Linked DNA regions of Homo sapiens: regions 2 and 3 are each linked to region 1. Evidence: promoter capture Hi-C in 16 types of primary human blood cells and fetal thymus (Javierre and others, 2016). All regions are on one chromosome and are shown on one strand. The core of a region is centred on a gene start or on the middle of the fragment in contact, and the rest is flanking DNA. Distances in the headings are between cores, read along the strand shown.

The links. The method cuts DNA at HindIII sites, captures the fragments that hold promoters and counts their contacts. A CHiCAGO score of 5 or more calls a contact.
Region 2: a fragment that was not itself captured here is called in contact with the fragment with the promoter of MEF2C-AS2 in region 1 in 4 of 17 cell types (M2 macrophages, endothelial precursors, M0 macrophages and 1 more); the score reaches 9.4 in M2 macrophages.
Region 3: the fragment with the promoter of CCNH here is called in contact with the fragment with the promoter of MEF2C-AS2 in region 1 in 13 of 17 cell types (M2 macrophages, endothelial precursors, M0 macrophages and 10 more); the score reaches 24.3 in M2 macrophages.

The regions. Positions count from the first base shown.
Region 1 is chr5:88,674,102-88,678,652 of GRCh38, reverse strand. It overlaps MEF2C-AS2 (MEF2C antisense RNA 2), which reads right to left and starts at 2,435. Exons shown (of 4, transcript NR_146284.1): 1 at 2,390-2,435. All of the region lies in intron 1 of MIR9-2HG (MIR9-2 host gene), which reads left to right. RefSeq lists enhancers at 2,361-2,926, 3,364-3,463. The HindIII fragment of the contact is 5,913 bases long and covers 1-2,547 here.
Region 2 is chr5:87,430,729-87,434,992 of GRCh38, reverse strand. The region is part of intron 1 of LOC105379066 (a long non-coding RNA gene); the gene reads right to left. Among named protein-coding and RNA genes, the nearest start is that of CCNH, 20 kb to the right of the region's middle. The HindIII fragment of the contact is 6,327 bases long and covers 1-4,264 here.
Region 3 is chr5:87,410,298-87,414,852 of GRCh38, reverse strand. CCNH (cyclin H) reads left to right here and starts at 1,923. Exons shown (of 9, transcript NM_001239.4): 1 at 1,923-2,175; 2 at 3,507-3,629. The coding sequence starts at 2,059. LOC105379066 (a long non-coding RNA gene) reads right to left here and starts at 1,871. Exons shown (of 3, transcript XR_948543.1): 1 at 1,792-1,871. RefSeq lists enhancers at 1,967-2,136, 2,167-2,296. The HindIII fragment of the contact is 6,680 bases long and covers 1-3,162 here.

The DNA.
Region 1 (4,551 bases), core at 1,186-3,685:
CTCTCGGAGGAGTTGGGGTCTGCGCGGGGTTGCGGGGCTTATTCAAATACCTCCCGCTGCTGCTGTGATTCGCAGGGACTCGGCCTCCATATGGTAATGCGGGGCGGGGGGTTGGGGGAGGCGCAGAAGGGAGGGGAGGGGAGGATGGGGGTGAGGGCGGGGTGGGAGGGGGCTCCGACACTGCGCGCTCGGCTGCCGGGCTGGGACAGAGCACCCGGACCCGCGGCGGCAGCGGCAGCGACGCTACCCACCCTCTTCCCCAACACCCACCTAGCCAGCGAGTCACCGAGCCACCGGCCCTCGGGGTAAGCCACAGCGCGCACACGGCAGCGACGGTGACGGTTCACACGCTTTGGGTTACTACCATGCGCCAATAAGGGAGATTAGAAACAGAAAAGGAGATTACAGAGAGATCAGAGATAAGAGGTGTACCTCTCTGTGTTCCTTGTCACATAGCGCGCGCGCGCACATACACACGCATCTGTACACACATGCATGCTCAGCCGTACACGCACGCGTTCCTTGCTACTGCCATCTAAATATATGCACCGACACTCTATGCCCTGCAACGTGGCCGGTGTGTTTGTCCTGATCCTACATAAAGGTAGGCAGGTATGTGGGAGAGTCCAGGCAGGAACAAACAGCCACGCGCAATTTAACTGCAGCCAAACTCAAAGAGACCTTGAGCCTGCCGAATTGTTTCACTCAGCCAGGTGCCCCCCAGAAACCGGCTATTCTGCAATCAGTTGTGGAATCCTGCAATTATTCATAAAATGTGCTGAAAATGTATTTTAGGAAACGTAATCTTGCTATATATGGCAAGGTAAAGGCGAACCTGAAGGATGAATGTGTTTCTGCTTTTTAATGTCATACGTGTAGCCATCTGACCACTTTTTATTGGGTGACATATCATATGAGCACTTTGGTGTAGGCTTGGAAAAACTACAGCCAGAGGTAAGGCTGGAAATTCCATAAGAGTTAAGGGTGCTGAAAATGGATGCTGGATAGTCCAGCATGAAAGATGGCATACCGCTTTAGGTTTGAAATAGGGGGAAATACATGTGAATATTTATACATGAAGGCCATTGGGGAGGGCTGAGTCTTGGCCTGAGTATCTGTGCAGGTAAGTCATTCATAAGAAAACTAATTACCTGTGCATGTACTTGGACTTGTTTAATTGAATAAGCTGCATGTGTGCATACTTGCTGTTCTTTCAGGGTTTGCAATTATAGATTGAGTCTTTTTTAAATGATAGCTTGGGGGAATTAAAAGGTGGAAAAAAGCCATCGTGCTGCATAGCTATATTGCCAAGAAAGAGAATCCGATCCTATAAACAAGATTACCATTGCTTGAAATCTAACTCAAGGCCTGTATATTTTAAGCCACATCAACTGGTTTAATATAGCCAATTGTTTTATTTGTGTATTTGCTTTCATTTCAAAGTCAGGAATCAAGGATGCTTTTCAGTCAAGATAATGTGCCTTGTTTCCAGCCATATTAAGATAAAAATGAAACTCAGTAAATTTTGAATGCAGCCAATAAGGTACAACATACAACATGGTTGAAAATGTCTTCCTTGCAGAAGGCTGTCCATTGCTGTGTCTACCCATTTTAAAATATATATATTTTTTTCAATAAGAAATGCTAGAAAGCAATAGGGCGGGGAATGCCGCACCTCTCAGGCAATCAGCACAAAAATTATTTAGAAATCTTTGGAATCACTTCACTTATACATACATTATCTCGAAAGCACTGGCCCCGAACTGTGTTTCTGCTAATATGAAGTTAATTAGACAATCAAACTTTGAGCCTTGAGCGATGGGCACTACAGCCCATCAAGGTATGTCAAGAAAGAAAAAAAAATGTGTATTTTCCTTTATGACCAAACCAGGAGGTTATACAGCTGGCATTGCATACATGACAGATGTGCATATTTGTAACCTTAAATAAACAGAAGCAGGGAGGTAACTGTGTATATTATCTAGCAAGAGACAGCAGCAGACACTCGCCAAAAAAGACAGAAAGGGACAAGAGAGACACATAGACATAATAAAATAACAACAATAAAAATCCTCCAAAAAAAAAAAGAGGGAAAGGGAACCAATAAAATGACAAAATCTGAAATTCTCGCAAATTAAAAAATGCAAATATACCTTTACATATGCATCAGTATTAAAAATAATACACGCTGGAACCAACAGGAGCGAGAGCAAGAAGAGGAGGAGGAGGTGGAGGAGAAGGAGGAGGAGGAGGAGAGGTGGAAGAGGAGGAGGAGGAGGAGGAGGAGGAGGAGGAGGAGGAGGAGGAGGAGGAGGAGGAGGAGGAGGAGGAAAGAATGGAGGCGCCGCGGAGCCCTGATTATGCATGGGCTGGAGCTGCCTCCTCTAACCTGTTCTTCTCCGAGCCGGGCAGCCGGCGGTCCTCAGCCGCCCACAGAACAGGAGCCGAAACAACCGTTCTCGAAGGCTACAGCGTTTATTTTTCTCTTTTGGGGGGTTTTGGCGGTTGTTTCAGGGGCTCGCCAACTGGCCCCTTTAATTAAAAGCTTCAATAAAAGGCGATCGCGCCAGGAATGCACCCGCTCCTCTTCGCGCAGGATTTGCATATTTTTTTAATGCCCTAATTTCCTTGATGTATGTAAATGTAGCCGGACGTAGAGGGAGACAGGGAGCTGACGTCAATGGACGTGACCTCGCAGCTAAACCTTGAACGTGAAGCCGGGATGGGGGAAAACACGGAGCGGCAGCCGGCGGAGCCCGAGAGCGCGGGCGGCGGCGGCAGTAGCCGAGCCCAGGCCGGGGTGCCAAGGGACCAGTGCCGGCCCCGGGGGAGGACAAGCCGCCGCCTTCTTTCTGCACCGCGCGGCTCTCAGACTCGCCAGCCTTCCGGCCGCACACGCAGACTCTTGCCCTGAGCTTCCAGCCCCACCACACACACGTTCTTTTGCTTCCCTCAGAAAAGCAACACTCCCCAAAACAACAAACCAAAATCAACAGATAAAACAGATGTTTTAGACCAATGCTCGGGTAGCTTATCAGAAAGAAGACTCTGACCACGGAACATATATATTTTTTGGCTTCTCTCCACAAGAAGAGGAGCGAGAGACCACAGACAACAGCAAATCACTCCTAAAACACGATAACTACAAGTGCTCCCTGTAGGGAGAGGTAAATCGCCCAGCCGACTGGTGAAGTCTTCTGGTTTCGGTACCTATTTACCTGTGCACTCATTATGCGCCTCGGCTTCATTAACGGCAGGATCATGAGCGCGCGTTTTAATGTGATGGGAGTGCTGTGTTGTGTGTGTGTGTGTATGTATGTATGTGTGTTGGGAGGTGCTTGCGCTAGTGAGCACCGAGGCAGGCGCTCTGAGCAGAGAGAGATCAGTCTTTCCATGGCCACGTCTGGGACTCATCTGCGGAGCCATCTAGGCCAGGGCTCCTAGATTGGGGTTCGACTTCACCCCATGTAAAAAGAGAGGCCAGCAAAGGCTTCCCCTGAACAGCCAGGTCCTTCCCATCGGATTGTTTGAGGAAGGAGGCTTGAAGTGTGAGCCATTCTGTAGCCGCCGCCTTGCCGGATTTGGCCTGGTGTTTTGCACTTGAAACTCAGCGGCCTCAGCGCGGAGGTAGTGCCTCTCCGAGACGCGGCCGAGGCCTTGTCATTCCCCTCCTTCCGCCCGCGGCAGCCCTGCGCGCCGGCGTGTGCGTGCCCGCGCACCGGACCGCTGGCACCTCCCTGTGCACATCCGCCCCCTCCTCTGCTCGCCCCCTCCTCTGGGGCAGCTAAGAAATGGTCCTCGGCCTCTTCTGGGCCGGAGGGCAGATCTACGAGCAGGCAAGAAAGGGGCGCCGGTGGCTGTGGTGGCGACTTCTCCGCTCTGCCCTCGGCCGCCAAGTGTGCCGTTTCATCGTTCCACCTCGCAGCCCCAGCTTTGTTTTCCTGACATGTTCGTGGCCATTGGGCCCCACGCCTGCGAGGGGAGTGTGTGCGTGTGCGCGGGGGTCGGGCGCGCGCGGCGGGTGGGGGCTCTCCCGCCAAGGACACGCATGGCTGTCTGTCCTCCGGCTGCACTTGGCGGGAAAGCTAGGGGCCGCCGGCGGGGCTGAGCGCCAGCGGCTGTCATTACCGCCTCCCTGCTCCCCGCGGGCTGCATTTACATACGGGCCACTCGTCTGAATTTTTACGGCACTCTTCCCCCTCCCGTACCCGGTCGCACGCGCGCAGGCTCGGAACTACCACCCCGGCACGCAGACACCCGCGCCCAGAATGCGGCCAGCCCCAGGCGCGCAAACAGGCCCACAGGGGCCGACGGCACTCGGCGGGACGGATTCCTGCACCGCCTCCCCGCACCCCCGTGCCCACACCCCTGACAGCCTCTCCGCTTGTGTTGCAGGAAGCCCACCTTCCCCTCGAAGCCCCCACCCTTCTCTGTCTGCATACTTCCACCCCCACCCTCCCACATCTCTCCGTCTCTCTTTCCGTGGAAGGCAGACGCGCGCGCGCGCGCGCACACACACACACACACACACACACACACACACCCGCTTTT
Region 2 (4,264 bases), core at 1,088-3,587, 1.2 Mb after region 1:
TAGAGTAAGACTAATTTGTGGATAAGAAATAAAATTTCTAACAGTAGATAAAGAAATTGACAAGGAGAAACTCTTACAAACCTGATGATAGAATGAGGTTAGAAACTGGGACACCTTCCTAAGAGGCCTTGCAGGAAAGGTAGAAATTTTGGGACACTTTCCCTTTGGACCATGGGAAAGCCATGTCACTCTCATTTACAATTCTTTCTCCATTGCTTTTTGTTTTCTTCAATCTTTTATAAATTCAGATATAATTTAATAACTGTATGTGGTATTTGTGACGAAGAAGGAAGGAACAGGGCCATAAAGACAGATTGGACCTGTAACACTTTTATCACACACACTTCTGCAGAGGACTTTGGCAAGCAGCACCATTTCTCTGAGAGGCCTTGAAGTTCATGAACATGATTTATTTTTTTAAAAAAAGTTTTTTATAAAAGGGTTTTACATCTACTTTTTTGTACCATACTCTATTGCCCTGCCACATCTCTTTTTCCTATGTATTACATTAGATATTGTGAAAAAGTATTGTTGAAACAGAACTTATATCATCAAAAAAGAAAGAAAACAAAGAACTAGAAAGGACTTGTGTAAAATGTTGGATTTCTGTTCCCAGAACTCATTGAACTTACTTCTCCCTCAACCATCTATAGATGAACATGGGCTATCATAAAATCATAGTTAGAACCTTAGAGATTTTGATGATAAGAGTCTACTGTCAGAGAAACCAGTTTCAAGTCATTTCAAGAATACTAAATGATTTTCATTTGGGAAATTCTAGTTTAAAAAAAAACAAACATGTTGATGTAGGTCCAAATGAACTCAATGTAGGTACAAGACTTGACCACATCACACAAGCAGTAAACAGCAAAGTAAGAGTCTGCCTAGTTTCGTCTAACTCCAGAACTCTTGCTGTTCCCCACTACACTGCACTATCCCCTAGCTTTATAATGTCAGCCTGCACACCTAAGCAATCATTATGAACCTATCCCTGGAATCTTGTAGAATGACAGGAAGTCCTGTTGGAACCCTAGGAGCAGGTTATGACAGCATCACTTCTTTTGAAAATGGGGAAAACTGTTCTGCTTATCAGTTACCAACCACATAAGGATACTAATCTTTTTGTTCTTTATTCGGAATTAAGAAAGGGACATGGGGGCATCAAAGCTAACAAGCAGCAAGATTCTTCTGCCTGCATCCCTGAGAAGCTGTGAAATTTAGGTAGTTAAAAGGTGACTGGCAGGAGGATCCAATCCGTTGTGTTCTCTGCATTGACACATATATCATAATGTTGGGTAACAGTACAACGCTGAATGCAGAATATAGATTTCTTGTCATATATCATGTGTAAGAGATGTATTTAATATTCACTATTGAATATTAAAACTATATTCCCTTGAAGCAACATAGGCATCAAGAAAGAAAGAAAAATGACATGTTATCTTTTTTGACATGATAAACATCAAAAAGACTCAGAATAAACATTATCTTAATCATGATAGGTATGCCTGGGGAAAGAACATGGTAGTTGCTGGAAGCACAAGAGCATCAGATGAGTCCAGCAAGCCCAGTTCTGTTCATGACTGTGACATCAAATATATAACCTTTGACGACCTTAAGTCCCTCACCTTAGTTTCCTCATCTATTAAAGCCAGCTATTTACATGGCCTGTATCTACCTATTAGCTTATTGTGAGGAGTAAATAAAATAATGGGGATGATCACAACAAACTTCTATAAAAACAAAAGTTTGTCTAATACTTTGATAGGATAATACATCTATTATATGCAAATTTTACTTAACTACAGAATTATTTTAATTAGCAACTACAGATTTGTTGAGTCATCCATATAAAATTAGAAAATAGAACTATTAAGTATACATATTTAAACAGCAGTGTGGGAAACATTGAAGCACTATTTATTGAGTGTAGTTTCTGGTGTGATTCAATTCTCATCCCAAAGACATAGAATGTCTTTTATTTTCCCAGGTTAAATATAGTATCTTCGGGAATTATTGACATTTAAAAAAAACATTTTCAATTAATATTAAATTCTGAGTGGTGCAATATTTTGAAAGAGGAAAGAGAGCAAAGAATAAACAAATGAAATTGATTTTCAAGTCTAAAAGTTTAAAAACATAAAAAGTAGGAATTAAAATATTAAAATGGTGGTGTCAGATGTTGGATAGGCACAATGTCTTAGTCCATTTAAACTGCTATAACAAAATACCATATACAGGGTATGTTATGAACAACAGAAACTTATTACTCACCGTTCTGTAAGGTGAACAGTTCAAGATCAAGGCATCAGCAGATTCAGTGTCTGATGAGGGCCCCTTCCCTCATAGATGACATCTTCTAGCTGTGTCTTCATGTGGTGGAAGAGGGAAGGAACAAGCCTCATAGTGTCTCTTTTATAAGGACAGTAACCTTTTATCTGGATGCTGAGGAGCCCTCATGACCTAATTGCCTCCCAAAGGGCCCCACCTCCTGATACCATCACGTTGGAGATTAGGTTTCCATCTTTGAATTTTCAGAGGACAAAAGCATTCAGACTATAGTACATAGGCCTGCATATTTCCAGTTCTAGAAGGATCTCACACTTTGGAGTGTTTTTCTCTACATTTTCTGTAGCTTCCTCTATGCCTGGTAGTGGCTAGACCAGCAGTGCCATCCAATCAGGGTTCTCCAAGCTCAGATCATAAAACACAAGGTCTTCATTCTCCATTTCTCCACTAAGGTATTTCTCCAACCAACTTTCCAGGACCTGGGTTCTACCAAATGCCCATGGAACCCTAGGGCTCATGCGGATGGGATTGTCCTGAGACCCCTGCCTGACCTCTAATCCAAGAGAGCAGACTGAAGAGTGGTAACTCCCAATGTCAGCACAGAATTTCTTTTTGTGGGACCACACAAGACTGAGTTTTCAGAATGGAACCAACAAGCAGCAGATGTTGGCCGACTCTCTTATCGATGTAAGACAAGTTCAGGACTCAGAGCTACAAAGAATCTACTGCTAAAACTTGAGCTTGATCTGAGTGTGTGGTCTAGAACATGGGCTCACACTCACCTCTGTTGTGACCACAGTACCACCTTTGATCCAGCACTGAAGAGTATTCTTTACCCTATGTACCCTTGGCCATCCCTGTGGCAGATACCTACCCCTTCTTTAGGTTCCATGCCCCATGTCTGGCAGTTCTCTGGGATTTGGTCATATTATCTACTCTAAGGCCTTTGGATCTATATCTACTCTGGCTATTGATCACTGTGGTAATGCCATGCTTTTGTAAGATGGACTTCCTTACACAAATTGGACCATTCTTTCCCTATCCCATTCCCCTTCCCCTCAAACTCCTCATCTGTTCTCTCCTCTGGTGGCAGTGTATAGAAGGAAGAGAGAGTCAACTTTTAAGAAGATCATGTTTTATGTGTGCAGTGATTATAGCCTAAGGAGTTCAAGAGAAAATATAGTTGGAAGTCATGTTGTTCTATGCTTATGCATTAAAATTCAAAACGAGAAATTTAACATGAATGGAGAATGAATTGTTGTTCACATGTTTCTGCATAGTCTGGGTAAGTTTACATTTCTGTTCATCATCAATAAAACATAGTAACAACATTTAAGAGAGTCTTTGGGGGCCAGTAATCATGGAAAGCACTATGGATGATGCAAAGTCATGAGCAATCATGTAACCAGAATTAAATAAATGGTATTAGGGAACTGCAGAGGCAAGATCTATATTTTTCAATATAAGCAGGTTCCAGCAAGCCATGACCTTATGAGTAATAACAATGTTAATGCCTTTTTCTTTGAGTAAGAGATATAAAATTAGCCAGGAATGGTACATTTTACAATAAAGAAGAGAGGGCTCCTGTACCTGAACAGGAAAAGATGATACCTGGATACTATTAGAAAATGTCATCTGCCATGGGCCTGATCAGGCTTGCATGTTCTTGCTCTGTGTGCCAGATTACTAGCCTTATCCATCCCCTGTTACTGATCAGGGACACATAGGCACTAAGTAGGTCAAAGTGACCACAATAAGACTCCAGGTTTGTAGCAGGAGGGGTCTGAATGATTTGCTACCTGCTACAACATTTTGTAGCTTGCTCAGAGAGTCCTGTACCCTTGGGACCCCTACTTTAATGCAACTCACTGCAAGTACAGGTATCATCTAAGCCCATTTCATCAAGCTCTGATACTTGGCAAGGAGAACCAATGCAAATATGCTGATGCTCATGCTTTTTGCTGTACTGTGAGCA
Region 3 (4,555 bases), core at 674-3,173, 1.3 Mb after region 1:
TAAATAAATAAGTAAAAATAATAGAAGTGAAGAGAAACACTTGCTACTTTTTAGTTGAAACTAGAAATGGAAATAGGTAAAGGCACAAGTTCTGCATTCCAGTGTGCCTCCTGTGGTAGCAATAGCAAAGAAACACTGTCGCACAACAGGCTGAGTAGGAGACTGTCACAGCATCCAGTCTGCTTACCTTAGTAAGAAAAACCATACATGAGCCTTAATGTTAGGGCATCAGCAACAATTGTATTCCTCAGACAGTTAATTTAGACAGAGCCCAATTCCTACTACATCTGAAAAATAAGATCAATGTCAATTTTCATGGACTAAAATTTGTTCAAGGTTTAAAAAAAATTACACCAGCAATGCCAGGTTTTTCATATATTTTTCCTAAATGACATTCAGAAATTTTACTCATATCTCTGTGGAAATCACAGTCTGCCAACTCTTTTAAATGCCTATTTTTATTATCCTTTACATAAAACTAAGGAGTTGTCAAATATCTTTCAGAAAAACAAAATGAAAAGAATTTATATGATATATATAACAGTCATGAGGCTAAGACTTTATATAGACATTTAATTATCTAGATCACTTATTTTCCTATCTTTTGTACCATTATGTTTTTCTCTTTTAAATTATTCTTTCCCCAACATGCAACATTTTAGGTTGTTCACAATTCATTGTAATCAATTTGCCATGCCCTTTGATCTTCTCTTTTTCTCTCTTTTCTTAGCCAATTTATGAGACCAGGTTAGCCACATATGTTGAGTGTGTGGCTCTCCAAAATTATATACCACAAATGGCATAAGTTTGAGGAATTCAGATAACTGTGGCAAACTCTAACCTCAGCTGTACCCAACAAAAATGAAAAAGAAAAGGCTTTCCCTTTCTTAAGCCCCTAAAAACATTTTAATAGAAAGCAGAGTTAAAGTCATCCTGCCACTTCTTCTTTTTACCTGTGTGGGCTTTTCAAGACCTAAATTCTCTAGGTCTCATCATCTTTCTCTTTCTTTTTATTTATTTATTTATTTTTTAGAAAAGCTATTTGCCATAGGGAAATCCATTTTTCGGATTGGATATATAATAAATACATGAGAGAATAAGGTATGCCTAAATGGGACAAACCAGAATCCATGTAAATTTTGAACCTCACCTGCAATTTTGAAAGTCCTATTAATTTAAAAAATAGTAAATACCTTAATTTTCATGATAGCTTACTGTAAGGCTCCCTAGAGGCAATGAAAATGGGAATCTCAATAAAACGAATACTACCATACATCCTGGCTTCAGAGATGAAAACAGAGGGAGAGGATTGGCTAGTTATCAACAGAAGGGTAAGGAAAAAAAGCACAGAGAAAGAACAGACAAGGCAACAAAAGTGGCAGAACTGTAAGGGCCAATACGCATCCACTGCTTCAAGTTTTTCAGCCATGTTCCATTCTCCGAGATTTCTGGTAGTGCTTCAAGAATACTGGTCTCCAAACTCTTCCTGAAAAGGGCTAGGAATGCTTCTGCCTGAAGATCTTACCTATTCTTTCTGGGCCCCGTGATCTCCCTACATGATTGATCAACCTACTATTTCAACTCTTTCAAGCCTTTTCACAAATGTCAACTTCAGTGAGGCCTCTATTTAAAAATGAGCACCCTACGAAATCCTTTCCTCATTTCTGATTATCCCCTGTGAATTTACATCTGCCTACTCCGTACCCTCAGTTTATGCCCCTTGAACACTCTTGCCGGGCGCTTCTCCTTTAAATCTTGCCTGGAAGGGGCGGAGCTATGTCCCAGACTCACCGAGAGGAGCGTTCTCTAGGCTCCGCCCACTTACGTCTCAGTGGGCGCCCTAACGAACCCGGGATACGGTCTGTTCCTAGTCCGCTCCGGAAATGCAACTGCGTACGGGCTGGCCGCGTAATCGTGACGACAGCGCGCCAGCGCCGGCTAGCCGGACGCCCTAGGCTTCCGCGAGATCTTCGGTGGGGGTACGGGTGTTTTACGCCAGGACGCTGATGCGTTTGGGTTCTCGTCTGCAGACCCTCTGGACCTGGTCACGATTCCATAATGTACCACAACAGTAGTCAGAAGCGGCACTGGACCTTCTCCAGCGAGGAGCAGCTGGCAAGACTGCGGGCTGACGCCAACCGCAAATTCAGATGCAAAGCCGTGGCCAACGGGAAGGTGAGGTTTTCCCAACGGTTGCCCAGTTGCCCGGTCACTAAATTCTGAGCAGCTGCGGGAGCTCTTCTGGCTCCCAGGACAATCTCGCTCCGTCGTTTCTCTGCCTCTGCGGCGCGGAGTGCGTTTTTCTATCAAAATAAGCGAGCACCTTGCCAGGTTCCGTGGGTACAAAGACGAACAACGCCATCCCCGTCGTCGAATGGCAGACAAGTAACCAGTCTTTGTAACGTAGTGAAGAAGAGAGTAAGTAGTGTGCTAAGGTAGTGCGTGGCAAGAGCCGTTCACTTGTCAAGAGATGATGTTGGGGAAGGTTTTTCCCAGTAGCCAATGCGGAGAAAATGGGAAAGGAAGTTCCAGGCAGTCAGAACCACCGTTCAGAGTGGGAGGGAGGTCAGAAGTTACAGAGATGGTGCGTGGACGTGTTTGTGGTCGTATGTGGCCGAAGTTGAGTACCTGTGCAGGAATGGCTGGGGAGGGTAGGAAGGGAACTTGTAAGTGGAAGTGAGGCGTTTAACATTTCCACTGAAAGGATGAGGAACCTTTGAAATATTTAAAATGGGAAGCTAACCTTATCAGATTTCCGTTCTGGAAACAGCGCTCTAGCAACCTCGTGGTGAATGGGTTGGATGAGGGAGGGAGACCAGAGACCAAGTACAAACCAAGTGACTGAAGATGGTTTGGACTATGGCCCGCTAGCCAAGTTCCTTCTGTTACAGCTCTCGGACTGGTTTAATCTTTCCTGCAAGCTCCACTCCAGCAAGTGTTCAGTGCCTCCAAATTACCGATACTGAGTTACTTTACTTTCTACCTTTAATTCACATCTATTTCATATCACTGATTTTAGCACCTGAATTAGTTTCCTAAGGGCTGCCTTAAAAAAATCACCACAAACTGGGTAGCTTAAAATAACAGAAATTTATTGAAACATTTGCTGTTTTTTTACAACTTGTGACGTAATGACTGACCGAGAAACGGATGTTGGAAGCTTTCCAATCATATTTTAAAAAGTCTGTCTACTTTTTAATTTATAAATAATGATATCACAACTGTGAGCATGTGCACACAGCCTGTCATGATTGTTTATACTTTAATGAAGCAAAGGTCTAGCTGACATTCCGAAAAGTCGTGAAATGATGGTACAGTTTTAGTTTATTAAATATTTTCCTACAGCTATTTTGTGTAATGATTAGCGAATCTATAAAGAAAATGAGGCGTGATATATACCCTTCGTTGGATATATAAACTAAATTTAATCTAGATAGAGAAAAATGTTTTACAATTGTTTAATTCATTGAATTCATTGAACTTGTGTTGTAATTGTTGATCTAAAGGTTCTTCCGAATGATCCAGTCTTTCTTGAGCCTCATGAAGAAATGACACTCTGCAAATACTATGAGAAAAGGTTATTGGAATTCTGTTCGGTGTTTAAGCCAGCAATGCCAAGATCTGTTGTGGTAAGTTACAGTGGTGATGAAATATAATGTCCTTTAGTTGGCTTGTGAAATTTGACCTCTTCTAAATTCCCTGTCCACTCAAGTCTTAAAAATTCACCTTAGTTACAATTAATTAGTTTTTGGCACATTATATATTTTTCAATACAGGCCTTAAATCATGAGTTGCTGTATCATATCTTCAAAAGTATTTCAAGTCTCACTTTGTGGTCAGAAAAAAATTTGAGGTCAGGTAATGTCATAAAGAAAGAAAAAAAATAAATTACTTTCCTCTAAGTTCTCAACTAATGAGCCATAGGACTGGGACTAGAACATAGACTACTGCTTTTCCAACTCTGTGACACCCAATAAATGTTTGAAATAATGCATTCATTCATCATTGGTAATCATATGCCCCAGCTGAAACTGATACCATAAGATTTTTTTAAGCCTTGATTAGTAGAAGCTGGAGTTTTATCTTTGGTGAAAAAGATTGCCTTATTGTTTCAGATGTATGGTTCTGAGGACCTATTTGTTTTTTGCTGGGGTGGGCAACCGTGAGGAGAAACAGGTAGCTGAGATTAAAAAGCAGAAAGATAAAAAAGGTAGAGTGGGAGGGTGTTCAAAATGTTGTTACGTTATTCTCTCACTGGTTTGTTGTGAAGACCAAATATAAAAGTATATCTTAAGTAAAAGTCTGTTAAGTTTTAAAGTTATACAGCGTGACTAGCTTACGACCCAGTAGAGAATAATTTTCTAGGAAATTATCTCCATTTTTATAGTTGAAAAAAAAATTGAAGTATGTTGAAAATATTAAGTCCATAGAATTTACAATTTTTTTTCATCTGAGATGTCAAAGATTCAGAGAGAGTTTTAGGTATACTTGATTAGTTTATATCTTCAGATTTGGCTTGTTCTTACAAAAGAACTGTAAAATGAGGCAGTAAATT